Linked DNA regions of Homo sapiens: all the other regions are linked to region 2. Evidence: promoter capture Hi-C in human tissues and cell types (Jung and others, 2019). All regions are on one chromosome and are shown on one strand. Each heading gives the region's core, a stretch centred on a gene start or on the middle of the fragment in contact. The rest is flanking DNA. Distances are from core to core; before and after follow the strand shown.

Region 1 (3,351 bases), core at 591-3,090, 35 kb before region 2:
GCTGACACCAACTGGTCTGAAGACCCTCACCAAGGAACTGACTCAGTGCAGGAATGCAGTTTCTTCATCTCCCTATCCCTGACTTCACCCCTCACTTCTCAACCAATCAGTGATCACCACACTTTAGGCCATCACCTGTGTCCAGACCCCTTAAAAACCCCATCTGCAAACCTCTTGAAGAGGCATATTTGAGGTTTCCTCTCATCTCCTCATTTGGTTTCCCTACAATTATTAAATTCTTTCTCTGCTGCAACTCCTACTTTTTCAGTGTATTGGTCTGTTACTGTGCAACAGGAAATCAGACCTGGTGGTCCTATAGTAAGAGTTCACAGAATATGATATACAAAGTGATCTGTGATATACAAAAACCGGCACAATCTCACTCTTAATAAGAAAAATTCAACTTAAAATTAAAAGTTTTTTTTCCTCAGAATGGCAAAGATCAAAGTTTGATAACATGGTTGGAAAGTATGCAGACCGATATTCTCATATTCATTGATGAAGTGTAAATTGATACATCCTTTGTCAGTACGGACAGGTTTCCCAACTCTAGGGGTGAAATTTATACAGACTACAGTGTGAATGACAACCACTTCAAATTGGGTGATATGATGACCTTGACTCTGTGGAGGGTCATTTGGCAAAATATCTCAAAATAAAAATGTACATACAATTTGACTCAGTGATTTTGCTTTCTGGAATGTTTCCTGCATGTGTGAATTTATATATGTACAATGAAATGCTTCACAATAGAACATTCTTCAGCCATTAAATAGAATGAGGCAGTTCTATAGATTCTCTATTGGAATGATCTCCATGATATCCTGTTTAGTGGGAGAAAGCAAGTTGTGGAAGAGGAACTTTAATAGTTTGCTACCATTAAAAACAGAAATAATACATTTGTATGTTTCTATATATAGAATATCTTTCAAACGTTACACAAGAAACTAGAACCTGTAGCCACTTCTGGGAGGGGAACTGGGTGGCTTACATTTCATTGTACATATCCTCTGTACCTTTTTGTTTTTCTTTGAGATAGGGTATTGCTCTGTCACCCAGGCTGGAGTGCAGTGGTATGCTGATAGCTTACTGCTGCTGTCAGAGGCATTTGAACCAGAGCAACTCCATCTTGAATAGGAGCTGGGTAAAATAAGGCTGAGACCTACTGGGCTACCATCCCAGACAGTTAGGCGTTCTAGATGACAGAATGAGATCGGAGGTCAGCACAAGATACAGGTCATAAAGACCTTGATGATAAAACAGCTTGCAGTAAAGAAGCCGGCTAGAATCCACCAAAACCAAGATGGCAATGAGAGTGACCTCTGGTCGTCCTCACTGCTGTACTTTCACCAGCACCGTGACAGTTTACAAATGCCATGGCAATGCCAGGAAGTTACCCTATATGATCTAAAAAGGGGAGGTATGAATAACCCACCCCTTCTTCAGCACATAATCAAGAAATAACCATAAAAATGGGCAACCAGCAGCCCCAAGGAGCTGCTCTGCCTGTGGAGTAGCCATTTTTTATTCTTCTACTTTCTTAGTAAACTTACTTTCACTTTATAGACGCTCCCTGAATTATTTCTTGTGTGAGATCTAAGAACCCTTGTTTGGGATCTGGATTGGGACCCCTTTCCAGTAATACAGACTTAAACTCCTGGGCTCAAGTGATCCTCCTGCCTCAGCTTCCAAGTAGCTGGGACCACAGGTGTGTGCCACCATGCATGGCTGATTTAAAAAAAAAAAAATTGGTAGAGTCGGGGTCTCACTATGTTGCCCAGGCTGCCCTCAACCTCCTGGGCTCAAAAGATTCTCTCACCTTAGTCTCCCAAAATGCTAGGATTAAGGTGTAAGCCACAATGCCTGGCCCTCTGTACCTCTTAAGTGAAGGAGTCCAGGGAAATTTGCCCCAAAATATGGCACCCTGGTATGCTGATTATTTTAAGTTAAAGGCCCTTGAAGGTCAGCAGATGCTGGAAAAGGCTTTTCTCTGACACTCCCTTATCTACCTTAAGACTGGACCCACTACAGAGAACAGAATTGCCTTTCATGCCATCTCTGAAATTACATTATCTGTCACAGACAAGACGACTGAGGAATGTAACCACACCTAGATGTATTTTTTCAAAAGATAATGCCTGCCTCTCAGGCTCATTCCAATTCCAAGGAGAATCATTTACAAGTTAATTTCTGTTTCCTGGGTCACTCATTCTCCCTAATAGTCATTTACTACTCCTCAAAAGAATTGTCTACATTCCCTACCTCCCCTCTCCTCTATGTAGAAGGGTATATAAACATCTGGACCCCATTGGGTTATTGGGTAATCACTGAACTTTCAATATACGCTAAAAGCTATAAAAGGACATAATACAGTACTGAATAAAGTAAATAATAATAATACAAAGTTTAACATTTGTTTTTCATCATCTGGTCAAAATGTCAAAAGTTTCAAAATAACATGAGCAAAAAATTTTAAAGTATGGATTGATCTTGATTGAATACTTTATAGCTACCAAACTCTGATGTCAAAGCCACATCCAAGTCTAAAATGAATACCTTATAGCTACCAAACTCTGATGTCAAAGCCACATCCAAGTCTAAAAACTACACCTGCTTTGTATGATAGAACTAATAATTATAATAGCTTTAGATTATTAATCTTTTCAATAATTTACATGCCATGTTCTCAAATACTTGTCTATTTTGAAATCTTCTATTCAAAATTTGCTACAACGTCTACTTCAGAGAGTGACTCTATATTGAGAGTACAGATAAAGTGACATAAAACTTACTTAGGACTTGCAAAGATTGTTTACTCATTTCACACACAGCCTTTGCAAATGGAACCACCAGGTTCTTCCAGTTCTTAGAATCATGCATCACAGGACATTCTGGGAGCAGGAGGAAAACTGATAAAGCTTCTTGGTGTGGAGAATGGCATGGAAGAGCTCTGAGCAGATCATCCTCGAGACACGTAGTTATCTGTGGTAAAAATAGGATCAGGGAACAGACCCAGGATATATTAGATACAGAGGATTGTGAGAAGCAAGCTGTGAAATTAAGGGTTTCACTCCACCATGTTCCAATTAGAATAATCACTTAGCCATTCTGAAACCTATTGATGAGACTCCATCACTCCTTCCATCCCAAATACCCCTGATATAGTACATGAGAGCCATCCTCCTCATTTTATATCAGGTTCCCTGAAGAAAATAAAGTGAAATCCCATGAGCATGGATATACTGAGTGAATTATGGATTCAAAACGAATACAAAGCCCTTCAAAAGCAATGTTGTATGCAGGTCACATTAGTATTCCTCCTTCTAGAAGGAAGAGCTGTCCCCTTCCCCT
Region 2 (3,030 bases), core at 485-2,984:
GCCACCACGCCCAGTTTATTTTTTGTATTTTAGTAGAGATGGGGTTTCATCATATTGGCCAGGGTGGTCTCGATTTCCTGACCTCGTGCTCCGCCCGCCTCGGCCTCCCAAAGTGCTGGGATCACAGGCGTAAGCCACCGCGTCCGGCCTATTATGTGTATATATATATATTTATATATTATATATATATATTTATATATTATATATATATATTTATATATTATATATATATTTATATTATATATATATTTATATATTATATATATATTTATATATTATATATATATTTATATATTATATATTTATATATTATATATATTTATATATTATATATTTATATATTATATATATTTATATATTATATATTTATATATTATATATATATTTATATTATATATATATTTATATATTATATATATATTTATATATTATATATATTTATATATTATATATATTTATATATTATATATATTTATATATTATATATATATTTATATATTATATATATTTATATATTATATATATTTATATATTATATATATATTTATATATTATATATATTTATATATTATATATATTTATATATTATATATATATTTATATATTATATATATTTATATATTATATATATTTATATATTATATATATATTTATATATTATATATATTTATATATTATATATATTTATATATTATATATATATTTATATATTATATATATTTATATGCTATATATATATTTATATATTATATATATTTATATGTTATATATATATTTATATATTATATATATTTATATGTTATATATATATTTATATATTATATATATTTATATGTTATATATTTATATATTTATATATTATATATATTTATATATTATATATTTATATATTATATATTTGTATATATTTATATATTATATATATTTATATATTTTATATATATATTTTTATATATATATATTTTTTAATGCCCCAGTGTATTTCTAAGGGAGATACAGGTGTCTGACCCACAAACCACGTTTGTAAGGTCAGGCTGCCTTCTCCAGGTAGAACCGCGCAGGCGAGGATTTATCTGCAAGGCAAGCCGGAGGGACCACATCTCTTTCCAGAGCAGCGCTGACCAGGTTAGTTTCGGCTCTCAGTTTCGCTTTGAACTTGAATTGGAAACCGAAACAAATCCGAGGGGCGTTGGGAAAACGAAACTGAGGAAGTTGCTCTTCGGTAGCACAGGGCACCATTTTCCTGGTTCCTGTGGCTCTTCGGGCCCCGAGGAATCCAAGGCTCCCAGCACCCCTCCCTGCCTGGCCCGCGGCGCCCAGCATCTGAGCCGCTCCCTGCACCTGGGCCCCCGCGCCCCTCACCCGGGTCCCAGCGCTCCGCACCCGGTTCCCTGCGCCCGGTACCCAAGCCCCCGCGCCCATGTACTGGGGTCCTCACACCCTGCACCTGGGGCCCCCCGCTCACCTGGCAGCTCCCCGCGCTGCGCGCCCCTGCGGCCCAGCTGACCCCTGCTGTTGTCTCCGCACGAGAGGACCCTGTGGTTGGTCAGCAGCAGCAGAGAGTGGCGCTCCCCGCTGGCCGCCTGCAGTAGCTCAGCCCCGGGGCTGCCCGCCGTCCTCCGGCGCTGCAGCTCCCTGGAGTCGGCGCCCCAACAGAAGTACATCCCGCTTCTGCGCCCTGTCGCCTGCTCCGGATTCCGTCGGTCCCGCTGCGACAGGCTCCCGAACGCTGGTGACTGGGTGCGCGATGATTTCCTGAATATCAAGAGACTCACCCTGTCTTCAACCCGCCCCAGGGGCGCAGCCCTGGCCCCATGTCAACTCTCGCTGCCTGAACTTCAAGTGCTGAAGAGCAGAGAGGGCGTCCCAGGGAATAAAACTGAGTTTACATCCTAAGCCATTTATGAGTCGTGAATGCCACTTTGGGCAAGTTACCTAATGATTCCGTGCTTCAGCTATCATATCTACGAAATATGGACTGCAATTCAGCAAATCTAATATGTCGGGATAATTTAATAGGCACATAAAGTGTTAGAATAATACCTAGAGTGGTTAATAAAGCATCTGAGTGCCCACCTCATTCCAGACCTTTTTTGGCATTGAAAATATGTTTGTTTTTTGTTTGTTTGTTTGTTTGTTTGTTTGAGATGGAGTGTCGCTCTGCTGCTCAGGCTGGAGTGCAGTGGCACCATCTCGGCTCACTGCAACCTCCACCTCACGGGTTCAAGCTGATTCTCTTGCCTCGGCCTCCCGAGTAGGTGGGATTACAGGCATGCGCCACGACGCCCGACTTAATTTTTGTATTTTTAGTAAAGATGGGGTTTCACCATGTTGGCCAGGCTGGTCTCGAACTCCTGACCTCAAGTGATCCACCCCTCAGCTTTCCAAAGTGCAGGGATTACAGGCGTGAGCCTCTGGGCCCCGCCTGAAAATACAATTAGTGAAAGACAAGATCCTCTTGATGCGTTTACATTCTCCTGAGGGAAAGAGAACATAAACAGATAAACACATAGTGTAATATCAAGGGGCAACGAAAAATACAACAGGAACCAGAGGGTGGAGGCGGAAGGCACTGGTATTTGAGATGATATTAGGGAAGATCTCTCTGATGAAGTGATATTTGTGCAGAGAGCTGAGGGGACATGGGAAATGAGGGAATGAGTCGTGATCACACCTGAGGGCAGAGGATGAAAAGAAGCAGTTGGAAGGTTTTGAATAGAGAAGAGCCATGATCTGACTTCAGTTTTTAAAGATTCATCTGGCTGCTGTGTGAAAAATAATAGGACAAAAATGGAAGCAGAAAGCCAGTTAGCAGAGACTACTTCAGAGTTCAGGTCAGGTGATATCCTAGAAGGGAAGAGAGGAGAAGTTATTAGATTCAAGACATGTTTTGAAAGTAAGAGTCCACAGATTTGATGATGGATTAGAAATTGGGGGGAAAGAAGAAAAGGGATTAGGGATTACTCCAGGGTTGGCTTTAGGGGTTACTCCAAGGTAAACTCTACTGGACTGGGAAACCCTGAGGAAGGT
Region 3 (3,162 bases), core at 428-2,927, 36 kb after region 2:
CTTAATTTGGGCCCTCACTCTTGCAAAGGGACTACATGTCAATATTTATATTGACTCTAAATATGCCTTCCATATCCTGCATCACCATGCTGTTATATGGGCTGAAAGAGGTTTCCTCGCTATGCGAGGGTCCTCCATCATTAATGCCTCTTTAATAAAAACTCTTCTCAAGGCCGCTTTACTTCCAAAAGAAGCTGGAGTCATTCACTGCAAGGGCCATCAAAAGGTGTCAGATCCCATCACTCAGGGCAATGCTTATGCTGATAAGGTAGCTAAAGAATCAGCTAGTGTCCCAACTTCTGTCCCTCGTGGCCAGTTTTTCTCCTTCTCATCAGTCACTCCCACCTACTCTCCTACTGAAACTTCCACCTATCAATCTCTTCCCACACAAAGCAAATGGTTCTTGGACCAAGGAAAATATCTCCTTCCAGCCTCACAGGCCTGTTTTATTCTGTCGTCATTTCATAACCTCTTCCATGTAAGTTACAAGCCACTAGCCTGCCTCTTAAAACCTCTCATTTCCTTTCCATCGTAAAAATCCATCCTCAAAAAATCACTTCTCAATGTTCCATCTACTATTCTACTACTCCTCAGGAATTTCTCAGGCCCCCTCTCTTCCCTACACATCAAGCTCAAGAATTTGCCCCTGCCCAGGACTGGCAAATTGATTTTACTCACATGCCCCGAGTCAGGAAACTAAAATACCTCTTGGTCTGGGTAGACACTTTCACTGGATAGGTAGAGGCCTTTCCCACAGAGTCTGAGAAGGCCACCATGGTCATTTCTTCCCTTCTGTCAGACATAATTCCTCGGTTTGGCCTTCCCACCTCTAAACAGTCAACCAGAAAGATCTCCTCACTGTCCTCTAAACAAACCAGGTTCATGGTTTTGTACCTGCTTCTGGTCTTGTCACTCTTCTCTTTAGAAACTCTCCTCCCCTTCTCTCCACAGATCCAAATTCCAGTGACCCCACAAGGTCATTCCCCTTTTCTGACTCCACCTGCCTATAGTGGCCTCCTCTTCTTTGCTGAACTCCTACTGCACTTGTCAGTAACATTCCACTGAGTTCTCAATGCTAGTGTGTCATTGTTTCTCTGTGCTTTCTATGTGTACATATTATGTTCTGTATGAGATTTCTTAGCCTCTGTAAATCCTTAGAATACCTAGCAGAGCTGAGCGCAGGGTGGAAGGTTGACACCCATGAACTATTTTTTATCTCGTAATATCACACATGGCAGCCATAATGCATTGCACCCCTTGCGGGATGAGGTGTGACAGCAAAACTGGCATAAATTTCTTCTTCCTTTTTCACAATTTCACAGCTACAAGATTCATTTTTACTATAGATCATGGTAACATCAGCACATAATTTTTTTTCTTATTAAGTAAAAAACTTACCTTTTCAATTAAAGGAAACACTTTCCAGCTGCTCTTTGGCATCTCTGAATTGCAAGCATCACTACTCTTGCACTTTGGGGCCATTCTTAAGTAAAAGAAGGGTTCCCTTAACACAAACACTGAGATACTGTGACTGTCCAACTGTTAAATAACAGGGCTGCCAAGTGACTCACAGGCAGGTACCACCACCTTAAACAGCGTGGATACACGGGACAAAGAAATCATTCATGTACCCAATGGGACAGAGCCAGACAGCATAAGATTTCGCCATGCTACTCAGAATGGAGTACAATTTAAAACTTATGAATTGTTATTTCTGGGTAATTTACTTAATATTTTTTGGAACATGGTCAACTGCAAGTAACTGAAACCTCAGAAAGCAAAACCATAGTGTCATGCGCATCTGTGTGAAGAGACCACCGAACAGGCTTTGTTTGAGCAATAAAGCTTTTTAATCACCTGGGTGCAGGCGGGCTGACTCCGGAAAGATAGTCAGCAAGGAAGATAGGGGTGGGGCAGTTTTATAGGATTTGGGTGGTTAGTGGAAAGTTACAGTCAAAGGGGGTTGTTGTCTTGTGGGCAGGGGTGGGGGTCACAAGGTGCTCAGTGGGGGAGCTTCTGAGCCAGGAGAAGGAATTTCACAAGGTTAATTGATCAGTTAAGGTGGGGCAGGATCAAATCACAATGGTGCAATGTCATCAGTTAAGGCATGAACCAGCCATTTTCACTTCTTTTGTGATGTTTCACTTGCTTCAGGCCATCTGGATGTATATGTGCAGGTCACAGGGGATATGATGGCTTAGCTTGGACTCAGAGGCCTGACATTCCTGTCTTCTTATATTAATAAGAAAAATAACATAAAATAGTGCTGAAGTGTTGAGACAACGAAAATTTTTAGGGGTGGTATGGAGAGATAATGGGCGATGTCTCTCAGGGCTGCTTCCAGCGGGATTAGGGTTGGCGTGGGAACCTAGAGTGGGAGAGATTAAGCTGAAGGAAGATTTTATGGTAAGGGGTGATATTGTGGGGTTGTTAGGAGGAGCATTTGTCATATAGAATGATTGGTGATGGCCTGGATATGGTTTTGTATGAATTTAGAAACTAAACGGAAGACACAAGGTCTGAATAAGAGAAGGAGAAAAATAGGTATTAAAGGACTAAGAATTGGGAGGACTCAGGACATCAAATTAGAGAGTGCCCAAGCAAGTAATTACTTGCTTGGTTGGCGAGTTTTTGGGCTCTATCCTTGAGTTTTTTTATGTTGTCATACACCAGGCCAGATTTATTTAGGTAAAAACAACACTGCTCATTTAAAAATATACAGAGTCCTCCTTTTTCAGCAGTAAGTCAAGGCCTTGGCAGTTTTGGAGGAAAGAGAAATGCAAAGCCAGCAATTGTTTGTTAAAGAAGGATTAGAAATGGCTAGGAGAGAGTGAGATTGATAGTGTGGTAGAGATAGCTGGGGAGAGGTAGAGGGTGGCATAAGAACGGGAACAAGAATAAGAGTAAGTATAAAACTAAAGAATAGGACTTCATCAGGGTGAAAGTATTGGAGTGTACTTTGCCACTGAAGTGAAAGGGGAGGTGCTAGGTTCTTTTTAACAACCAGCTTTCACAGGAACTAATAAAGTGAGAACTCGTACCCCGCACCCACCCTCCCAGACAGAGCATTAATCTATTTATGAGGGATCTGCTCCCATGACCCAAACACCTCCCATTAGGCCCCACTTCCAACACTGGGGATCAGATTCCATCACAAGATTT
Region 4 (3,432 bases), core at 875-3,374, 60 kb before region 2:
ATAGTTGGCATCATTCGAACATCATAGGACTTAGATAATTAGATGAAGATAGGAACATGAGATAAAAGGCTTAGGAGCCAGCTGAAGTGAGGAAAGAGGGTGCAGAAAAAGTCAGTGTAGAAAAAGTAGTAAATTAGCAAATCTCTACTTAAAAAAAAAAAGAAACAGGCTTGAGTAAGAGAAAGAATGCTGGTCTAGAAGGTAGGGAGCCTGGGTTCTCATCCTTGCTCTGCCACTAACACATGTGACCCACCTGCAAGAATGGTGATACAGAGATAGAAAATTATTTTAGGCAGATAGTGAGGGCAAAAGAGTCCTCAGCAGAACTTCCCTTCTAACAAAAAGCAGTCCAAGAAATCACTTCTTTTCTAACAAAGAGCAGCCTGGAATATCGGGCTGCAAACATAGATAAGAAGGCTGGAAGCTAGCACGGGGGAATGCCAGCAGCTCCACCAATAGAAAGGGCAACCTGGGACCAGGCATGTCCACCATGGGGGTTCCACCTCCCCCCTTTTTTAGCACATGCACAGTAAGAAAGAAGCACCATGGAGTAGCTACCCACCTGTATAATCAAAGATTGGGGTAGGGGCTGCCAGAGATTCGTGCCCTATGCGGATGGTACACCTGGTCCTAACTCGTTTTTCATGCCCTATGTAGATCAGACACCACCTCCTCACTAGCTCATCTATAAAAAACCCTGCATTTCACCACAGATCAGCAACTCATTTTTCTGGGACCCCTCTCTGTAGCAGAGAGCTATTCTCTTTTCGCCTATTAAGTTTCTGCTCTATACCTCACCCTTTGTGTGTGTCCATGTCCTTGATCTCCATGGCTGTGAGACAAAGAACCTTGGGTGTCACCCCAGACAATGAGGCCACTTCAATGGCTTCATTCTAAACAAGACTGTACCTTTTTAAAAGATACATAATTATGTGTCCATCTAGTACCACAGTACTTACAGAGGAATTTTTTCTTTTCATCCAAGGTTAGTTTGTGGAAAGCCTTCCAAAACAACTGTATAGTAGGATGTGATTTTTGGTATCCTTGCTCATACTTTGAATTCTTGAGAGAAAGAGGGAGAAAAATGATTTGAGTGGGGTGGAATATATAGAAGTTGTTCGGAAAAATTGGGGCACTTTAGGTATCACCTACCTGTTCAAACTGTTTCCAGTCATAATCAGTATTTCCAATGATTGCTGTCATTAGTTCTTCAGGGTAGAAATGTCTAAGTATCTCCTTCTCACAGACTCTATAAAATCCTCTCTGAAATTCCTCATAAACTGCTTTTACAGAGACGTTGAAAATGTAATCAATATACTTAGAAACATAGTCTCTCCTTGAGGGAAGCAAAAAAAAAAAAAAAAAAAGAAAGGAAGGAAAAGGCCAATGATTAAAAGATTTTATACTTTGTTCTTTTTACTATTTCTATTGAGAAGGAAAAGTAAATTACTTCTATATAGCACAAGAATGTTGTATTGTGACCAAAACCTGGTCAGCTAGAAGAAAGAAATTTAGAAAATATAATCAGAAGGTTTAAAACTATTTGGCTCACTTTCCTCACTGCAGTCAGGAGGATTTTTTTAAAACATGAATCTGAATATGTCATTCTCTTGCTTAAAGTCTTTCAAAGGCTTCCCATTGCCCTTGGGGTAAATTCCAAACCTCCTTAGCAGGGATCAACAGGCCTTCCCAAGCCTAGCTCCTCCCTCAATTATCTGACCTTGCCAGTCTCAGCAAGGGGCCTCTTCCCACTTCCATTTTCTTTCTTTCTTTCTTTCCTTTCCCTTCCCTTCCCTTTCCCTTTCCCTTCCCTTTTCTTTCTTTCTTCTTTCTTTCTCTTTCCTTTCTTTTTCTTTCTTTTTTTTAAGAGATGGGGTCTCCCTGTGTTGCCCAGGCTGGACTTGGACTCCTGGCCTCAAGCGAACCTCCCGCCACAGCCTCCTGAGTAGGTGAGACTGCAAGTATGCACCATGGTGCCCAGCTCCCACTTCCATTTTCACTTCTGGCCCCGTTCATAGGTCTTGTCTCTCTTTTGTAGTTAGGCCACAGAATGCAGCATTTCTTCTTTACCTGATAACTTCTACCATCCATTAGATTTCAATATAAGTAAGACTTTCTCAGGGTTGATCCTTTTGTTCCTTTGCTTGTCCCCTCTCACAACACATGTCACTTTGTGAAAATTATTCCTGCAAGGTCTGTCTTATACTACAGGATGTAATTTCTACTAAATGATTAATTTCCTGATGGCAGGGTTGCTACTGGAGGCATTTCCATCAGAGACATGATTGTCTCCCACACTTTGGGCAGCCTTTGTGGACTAGCCTATCTAAATCAACTCTTGTCTGCCTTCCCCTGTAACCATTGGTGTGCTGGTAAATATCTAACAACCAGCTCTCTGAAAAGGAGTGGGAGGGGAGGGGACACACATTTGCAGCATTGGCGAATTTCTGTGGTGTTAATATTCCCACTGTGGCTGATTTTCAGCTACTAATACTTTGATAATAAACTCTTAACATTTTTGAAAATTTAACAATCAGCTCTCACAAGCTGGTACTAGTGAGCTCCAGCATACCACCACCTGGAACTCCCTAGTTTCTTAATCAGTTTTAATTTTCTTCAGAGTGCTCATCCTTATCTGACATTATATTACATAATAATTCATTTGTGGCCAGGTGCGGTGGCTCACCCTTGTAATCCCAGTACTTTGGGAGGCTGAGGTGTGAGGACTGCCTGAGCTCAGGAATTCGAGACCAGCCTGGGCAGCATGGCAAGACTCCATCTCTATTAAAAATAATAATGATTCATTTGTGTATTGTCTTTCTGCCCCACTGGAATTTAAGCTCCAAATTTTGTCTGTCTTTTTGACTACTGTATCTCCAGCACCTAGAATAGAGTCTGGTACAGAATAGGGGCTCAAAAATATTTGCTAAATGAATAAATAGTAAAAAGAGCTACAAAGGAAATATTGAACCCTGAATTCTTTCTCCTTTTCTTTTATCTTAAAAGCTTCTTTTTTCTAAAAGATTAGGAGCTAAAACAATCACCTGAGAAGCTAAAATGCTTTTTTTTTTTTTTTTTTTTTTTGAGACACAGTCTCACTCTGTTGCCCAGGCTTGAGTGCAGTTGCGCAATCCCGGCTCACTGCAACCTCCACTTCCTGGGTTCAAGCAATCCTCAGCCTCCTTAGTAGCTGAGACTACAGGCATGTGCCACCACACCTGGCTAATTTTTGTAGTAGAGACGGGGTTTCGCCATGTTGGCCAGGTTGGCCTTGAACTCCTGACCTCAAGTGATCCACCCACCTCAGCCTCCCAAATTGCTGGGATTACAGGTGTGAACCATATTTAAAAATACATTTTAAAAGAATAGTGATACAACATTTTATGTACAGTATATTCAAAACAGATATTCTAGCTGTCAAAACTTACTTGT

The links. Contacts are between HindIII fragments. The study calls those that stand out against the background at their distance.
Region 1: a contact is called between a fragment that was not itself captured here and the fragment with the promoter of HERC6 in region 2, in 1 of the 25 tissues and cell types used here (bladder).
Region 3: a contact is called between a fragment that was not itself captured here and the fragment with the promoter of HERC6 in region 2, in 4 of the 25 tissues and cell types used here (adrenal gland, heart left ventricle, mesendoderm cells and 1 more).
Region 4: a fragment that was not itself captured here is called in contact with the fragment with the promoter of HERC6 in region 2 in 3 of the 25 tissues and cell types used here (heart left ventricle, ovary and stomach).

What each region holds. Positions count from the first base shown.
Region 1 is chr4:88,412,708-88,416,058 of GRCh38, reverse strand. It overlaps HERC6 (HECT and RLD domain containing E3 ubiquitin protein ligase family member 6), which reads right to left. Exons shown (of 23, transcript NM_017912.4): 12 at 2,793-2,982. LOC102723458 (a long non-coding RNA gene) reads left to right here. Exons shown (of 5, transcript XR_938976.3): 5 at 1-678. Among named protein-coding and RNA genes, the nearest start is that of HERC6, 36 kb to the right of the region's middle. The HindIII fragment of the contact is 6,889 bases long and covers 1-3,351 here.
Region 2 is chr4:88,377,556-88,380,585 of GRCh38, reverse strand. HERC6 (HECT and RLD domain containing E3 ubiquitin protein ligase family member 6) reads right to left here and starts at 1,734. Exons shown (of 23, transcript NM_017912.4): 1 at 1,466-1,734. The coding sequence starts at 1,664. RefSeq lists an enhancer at 982-1,311 and a silencer at 1,322-1,511. The HindIII fragment of the contact is 12,273 bases long and covers 1-3,030 here.
Region 3 is chr4:88,341,840-88,345,001 of GRCh38, reverse strand. No RefSeq gene overlaps it. Among named protein-coding and RNA genes, the nearest start is that of HERC6, 35 kb to the left of the region's middle. The HindIII fragment of the contact is 5,342 bases long and covers 1-3,162 here.
Region 4 is chr4:88,437,778-88,441,209 of GRCh38, reverse strand. It overlaps HERC6 (HECT and RLD domain containing E3 ubiquitin protein ligase family member 6), which reads right to left. Exons shown (of 23, transcript NM_017912.4): 20 at 3,429-3,432; 21 at 1,153-1,336; 22 at 960-1,062. All of the region lies in intron 1 of LOC102723458 (a long non-coding RNA gene), which reads left to right. Among named protein-coding and RNA genes, the nearest start is that of HERC5, 18 kb to the left of the region's middle. The HindIII fragment of the contact is 9,680 bases long and covers 1-3,432 here.